2 separate regions of the Homo sapiens genome follow, and region 2 is linked to region 1. Evidence: promoter capture Hi-C in human tissues and cell types (Jung and others, 2019). All regions are on one chromosome and are shown on one strand. The core of a region is centred on a gene start or on the middle of the fragment in contact, and the rest is flanking DNA. Distances in the headings are between cores, read along the strand shown. Region 1 holds the start of IL31RA (interleukin 31 receptor A). Region 2 overlaps DDX4 (DEAD-box helicase 4).

Region 1 (3,382 bases), core at 47-2,546:
TGATGCAAAAGGAAAGAAAACTAAGTTTTAAAACAAGCTATGCTTTCCAGCCCCACATTTTAATTTTTAACCCATTCCCCATCTTCCTTAGGCAATGTTCCACTAAGTAGGAGGAATAAGGGTGAGAAAGAGAGCTAGTCTTTTACCTAGAAGATTATAATTATGAGATATTTAAAATTCCAGCCAGGCGTGGTGGCTCACGCCTGTAATCCCAGCACTTTGGGAGGCTGAGGCAGGTGGATCACCTGATGTCAGGAGTTTGAGACCAGCCTGACCAACATGGCAAAACCCCATCTCTACTAAAAATACAAAAAAATTAGTCAGGCATGGTGGCAGGCACCTGTAATCCCAGCTACTCGGGAGGCTGAGGCAGGAGAATCGCTTGAACCCGGGAGGCAGAGGTTGCAGTGAGCCAAGATCGTGCCATTGTACTCCAACCTGGCGACAAGAGTGAAACTCTGTCTCAAAAAATAAATAAAATAAAATAAAATAAAATTCCATTATAATATACTATAGAGAAAAGCTAAATGCTAGCACAAAAATAGCAAGCATTTCTTGAATTTATTCAACCAATACTTAGTAAACACCTATTACATGCATAACAGCTCACTAAAGGTGTTGTGTATTAAATAGAATTCTGGTTAAGACAAGACCAATTGAGCATATACATTTATCTCTACTCTCTCAGGAAACTCCACAAAAATTATGGCAAAGATATAGAACCACAAGACAAAACAAATGGGAAGAGGCAACAGCAAATAAGAGATGTCAACAAATCTTTGGAAAAAGAGAAATGAATCAAGCCATAACTGAACTGGTAAAGATGAGAAAGCAGAAACCTAGAAATGCCTAATAAGGTTGCCAACAATAAGCAAACATAATTATGCCACGGAATCTCATACGGCTCAGGATTTGAGACACTAGGTAGGTAAAATCAACCCTCATTACTCACAGCTTCCTTATTTGTGAATTCACCTACTTGCTAGGAATTATTTGTAACCCCCCAAATCAATACTCACAATGTTTTGCGGACATTCACAGACACATGCCGTGGTGAAAAACTTGAGTTGCCTGATGCACATTCCCAGCTGAGGTGGAACAAGCTGACACTCTGCCTTCCTGTCTCAATTTTCATACTGCACACACATGTCTTTTCATGGTCTATTTAGTGCCATGCTGGTTATTACTATTTTTTTTTGCAATTTTTTGCCTTTTATGAGTGATTTTGCTGTTTCGAATGCCCCCCAAGCAGAGTGCTGGAGTGCTGTCTGGTGTTCCTAAGCAGAAGGAGGCTGTGCCTCATGGAGAAAATATGTGTGTTAAATAAGCTCTATTCAGGCATGAGTCATAGTACTGTTATTAGCCATGAGTTCAATGTTGATGAATCAACAATGTATATTAAATAAGGTGTCTTTAAACAGAAACACACACAAAACAAGGTTATGTATTGATTAGCTGACAAAAATGTTGTGACCAGAGGCTCACAGGCACCTAACTCTATATTTCCCCCACAGAGAATAATTCAGTATTTTCTTTTTTTCTTTTTTTTTTTCTTCTGAGACAGAGTTTCGCTCTTGTTGCTTAGGCTGGAGTGCAATTGCGCCATCTCAGCTCACCGCAACCTCCACCTCCCGGGTTGAAGTGATTCTCCTGCCTCAGGCCAGCCTCCCATGTAGCTGGGATTACAGGCATGCGCCACCAAGCCCAGCTGATTTTGTATTTTTAGTAGAGACGGGGTTTCTCCATGTTGTTCAGGCTGGTCTCAAACTCCTGACCTCAGGTGATCCACCTGCCTCGGCCTCCCAAAGTGCTGGGATTACAGGCATGAGCCACCACGCTCAGCAGTATTTTCTAATTCAGTGTTTGTGGCGATTTTATTGAACATAATTGCCAGGAATAATGAAGGAATAATGAGAATTGACTATACCTCTGAAACAAAAATCATAAGATTGGTTGAAAATCTGAAAAAGAAATAGACTACCTAATCCTAACCCCACAAAGCCAAATTCATTAAATTTCTCCCATCCCAACAGCAGATGGGGGGAAAAAACTTGAAAGAAAGGCAATGCAGAAAGCAGAATATTTTTTAAAAGAAATATTAGTTAAACCTTCATAGAAAATAAGAAAAAATGTTGTACCCACAAAATATGAATAGGATGCTATGATAAAGGCATAATTAGAGAACAAGAACTCTTGGAGATTCAAAATATGAGAGCTGAAGTCTAAAGACTAGAAAATAAAGTTGAGGAAATCTTCCAGAAGATAGAAGAAAAGACAAAGAGATGAAGAATAGCCAACATCTGACTACCAGCAGTACAGAAGCACAGAACAGAGGAATGGAGGGAAAGAAATAATGAGAGAAGTGATACAATAAAATTCCCAAGAATTGAGGAACATTTGTTTCCAGATTGAAAGGGCCCACTGTAAACAGCATAATAAATGAAAATAAATCTACACTGAAGTACAAAACAGTGAAGTTTCAGAATATCAAGAATAAACAGAAAAAAAATGTTTCCAGATAGGAAAAAAATAAGTCACATACAAAGGATCAAGGATGAGAATGGCTTTAGACTTAATAACAAAACCAGAAGTTAGAAAGCAATGGATCAATTCCTTTATAACTCTATTGGAAAATTATTTCTCACCTAGGATGCTCTACCCATCCAAATGATCCATCAGAAAGAAAGGTAAAACAACGTTCTTGAAACTGCATTTTCCAACATGCCAAGTTTCAAGAACTTTATCTCCCATGTGACCATTTTCGAGATGTTATTGAAAAAAGTGACTACAAAAACAAGAGCATAAGCCAAAACAAAAAGGAAAAATGGGCTCCCAAAAACAGCAAATTTCAAATAGAAGAGAGAGAATTCCAAGAATGGTGGCCAAGGGAGATCCCAAGATGATAAGAGTACAACAGGCTTGGAGAGCAACTAGCCCAAGTGAGTGGCAGACGCCAGGCTCAAGGAGGGATATTTCCAATGAAAAAATACATGGAGGGGACCCAATGGATCTGACAGATGTTGAAACTTGAAAAGTTTTGCAGCACTCTTAGAAAGTTTGGAGAAGGATGAGTAATCGGCTCAGTAAGTTAAGGAAACCAAAAAATGGCATAATTATTAATTCCAGGAAAAAGAAAATGTTATATAAGAAAATATATTTAAAGTCCAATATGTGGCTCAGCTATGAATAACTATAGAGTCACAACAATGAAAACATTAATGGATTTAACAAAAGTTATAACTATATTGAAAGAATGGGGTTAGGAAAGGATGCACATATGTGTGTGTTTGTGTATAGAATTGGTAAGAGACTTCAGTCTTTATCTTCCATAGTTAGTAAGAAGTCAATAGATAATGTCTAAAATTGAAAAAAAAATTAAATT
Region 2 (2,977 bases), core at 161-2,660, 63 kb after region 1:
TTAATCATGCATCCCTATGGAGAGATCCAATGAAGCCCTCAGATGACTGCCTTGACATCTTGTCTGGTTGACAATAAAACCAGAATTGGTTGACATCTCGTTTACAATCTCATAAGAAACTCTTAACTCAGAAGGACCCAGCTAAGCCAAGCTGTTCCCCAATTCCTAAGCCCCCAAAATGGTGAGACAGTAAATGTTTATTGTTGAAAGCAACTATGTTTTAAGGGAGTTTGTTAGGCAGCGATAACTAAATGTTGGCAAAGGGTATACTGAAATTGGACTTCTGATAGACTGCAGGCACAAATATACATTAATTACAAGCTTTAAAATAAGTTCCTGCTCTTTAACATTAAAATTGATAAAACTCTATTCTAAGAAAATACTTAAAACAGAAAACTGTTGGTTTTTTTTATATATAAGTCAAGGTCTCACTGTCATCTAGGCTGGAATGCAGTGGCGCAATCACAGCTCACTGCAGCCTCGACCTCCCAGGCTCAGGTAATCTCTCAGGCTCCCAAGTAGCTGGGACTACAGGGGTGCACCACTGCACCTAGCTAGTTTTTGTTCTTTTTTGTAGAGATGGGTTTTCACCATGTTTTCCAGGCTGGTCTTGAACTCCTGGGCTCAAGCTATCTGCCCATCTTGGCCTCCCAAAGTGCTAGGATTACAGGTGTAAGACATCATATCTGGCCAAAACAGAAAAACTATGTAGCAAGATGTACATTGCAATTTTGTTTACAATAGCCCCAAGTTAGAAAGAACCTAAATACCTCAGAACAGAGAAATAAAATGTATACACATGGGCAATTTAAAAGTCATTAAAAATCAGTTCTTATTATGAAATAAGAATTTTCTGTGTTATAAAGTTTTATGTAAAAGAATAGGAAATTATTAGAATACCCTGAGTTCATTTTTAAATATACATTAAAAACTACCAAGAAATAATACCAGTATGTTCACTATTTTCTACTTCTAGTATTATCTGTTTTTTAAATTAAAATTTTACTTTTTTGGAGACAGGGTCTCGCTCTGAGTGTGGTGGTGCAATCACAGTTCACTGCAGCCTCAAACTCCTGGACTCAAACAATCCTTCTGCCTCAACCTCCTAAACTCCTAGGACAACAGGTGTGCATCACCACATGCTGGCTAGTTATTTTATTTTTTGTAGAGATGGGGTCTTGCCATGTTACCCTGGCTGGTCTCGAACTCCTGGCCTCAAGCAGTCTGCCTGCCTGGGCCTCACAAAGCACTGGGATTATAGTCATGAGCCACCAAGTCCAACCTATTAACCTAATTTTTAATAAGCATATTTCTTTTCAAAAATGAAAAGGATTCCATAAACAAGATAATAAAAAAATACTTTAAGTAATGCTAAAAATTACATGAGTGCATTATTACTGAGTTCTTCCAAAAGTGAGGGGAAAAAAATCTCTAAAGAAAAAACTATTTTGTGAGTAGCACTCTGATGTACTTACCCAAAAGAAAATTTTCTGGCTTCCAAATAAATCTGGTTGACCAATTCTCGAGTTGGTGCTACAATAATACACTCTGGTTCCTGCAACTCTTTAAAACGACTGGCAGTTATTCCATCATGCATCATATGAGCCAAAATTGGTAGGAGAAAAGCCGCCTAGAAGTTAAGTTGCTTAGTTTACAAACTTATAGCACAACACTTTTATCCCTATGGAAAGCTAATCCTCATGTCCTTATAGCCTTTAGACTCTACTTCCATCTTACTGGTAAATTTAAGATGAGAAATGAAAACAACTTTCATTTCAAGGTGTTCTTAACATTTATGTCTTTATGCTCTTATTATACAATATAAAATTTGGTAAAATTAATCTAACCTATCAAAGTTTTTCAGTGTATTTTCAAAAGCATACCCACGAATTCTAAACAGATCAACAACATTAGCATATTTATAGAGGAATATGATAGATGTAATCGCTGCAAATCATTACAGTGAACAATTACTCTAAGTTAGTCCTTTTGAGGTCATAAAATTATCATTCAGAATGGATGACAAAAGTGGCCCACAGAGTAAAAACTTAGAAATCATCATCTGTATTACTGAACACATTACCCTTATTGAAGTTACATCTGGCAACAGAAATTTTGTGCTACAGTTTTCTCATTTAAGCAAATAAGACACTTGCTAAAATCCACCTCCAAAACCACGTTTAACACTCTCATCAGCTGCTATACAATACCTGTTTTTCCCTACAATTCTACTATGAAGGCTGATTAAGACTAAAATGGTATGACCTCATGGACTCTATGATCATAGAAATAAGAGTCTCATCTTATGGAGTCGTTAATTAACACACAAATCTCCCAGATTAGTCCTAAAACCAACTGGTTTCATCAGACTTCTTTTATAATTAGCATAACCTGAGGTCACTGAATACTAAGGAATCATGCACAATGCATAACTGTTTCTCATTCTTTAATCTTTTGACTTCGAGTGTACCAGCTATAATACAGAAATTACTTTCTCCCTCTCTGTTTTATAAGCTCTGCTTTGACTTTCAGTCACTTTGTTTAAGATACTACCATGTTTCAGAAAGAGCTGCACACAGAAAAGATTAAACATCTATGGACAGCAACACCACCCCAGGAATAGTTCAGAATTCTTTCTTCCGAAGTACACAAATCCTAATAAAAATCAGAAGCAAAACCATCAATACTTATGACAGGTAACTGAAACCATCTACAAACCTTCTACTCAAAAGAAGAAACCAAGTTACTAAGGAAGAACCAAAGCTCAAAAAACCTAACAGTTTGGACATGTGGGGAAAGACTTACAGTCTTCCCAGACCCTGTTTGAGCGCAAGCCATCAAATCTCGTCCTGCAAGTATGATAGGAATACTGTATTTTTGCACAGGAGTAAGCTTAGTATAACCAGCTTTAGCAATGTTGTTATTCAGTGTCTGACAGAGATTAGCTTCTTCAAAAGTCTGAAAATTTAAAAAAAAG

The links. Contacts are between HindIII fragments. The study calls those that stand out against the background at their distance.
Region 2: a fragment that was not itself captured here is called in contact with the fragment with the promoter of IL31RA in region 1 in 3 of the 25 tissues and cell types used here (IMR-90 fibroblasts, stomach and thymus).

What each region holds. Positions count from the first base shown.
Region 1 is chr5:55,849,271-55,852,652 of GRCh38, reverse strand. It overlaps IL31RA (interleukin 31 receptor A), which reads right to left and starts at 1,296. Exons shown (of 15, transcript NM_139017.7): 1 at 1,020-1,296. The coding sequence starts at 1,082. The HindIII fragment of the contact is 16,782 bases long and covers 1-3,382 here.
Region 2 is chr5:55,786,499-55,789,475 of GRCh38, reverse strand. DDX4 (DEAD-box helicase 4) reads right to left here. Exons shown (of 22, transcript NM_024415.3): 14 at 2,806-2,958; 15 at 1,476-1,630. Among named protein-coding and RNA genes, the nearest start is that of DDX4, 50 kb to the right of the region's middle. The HindIII fragment of the contact is 6,379 bases long and covers 1-2,977 here.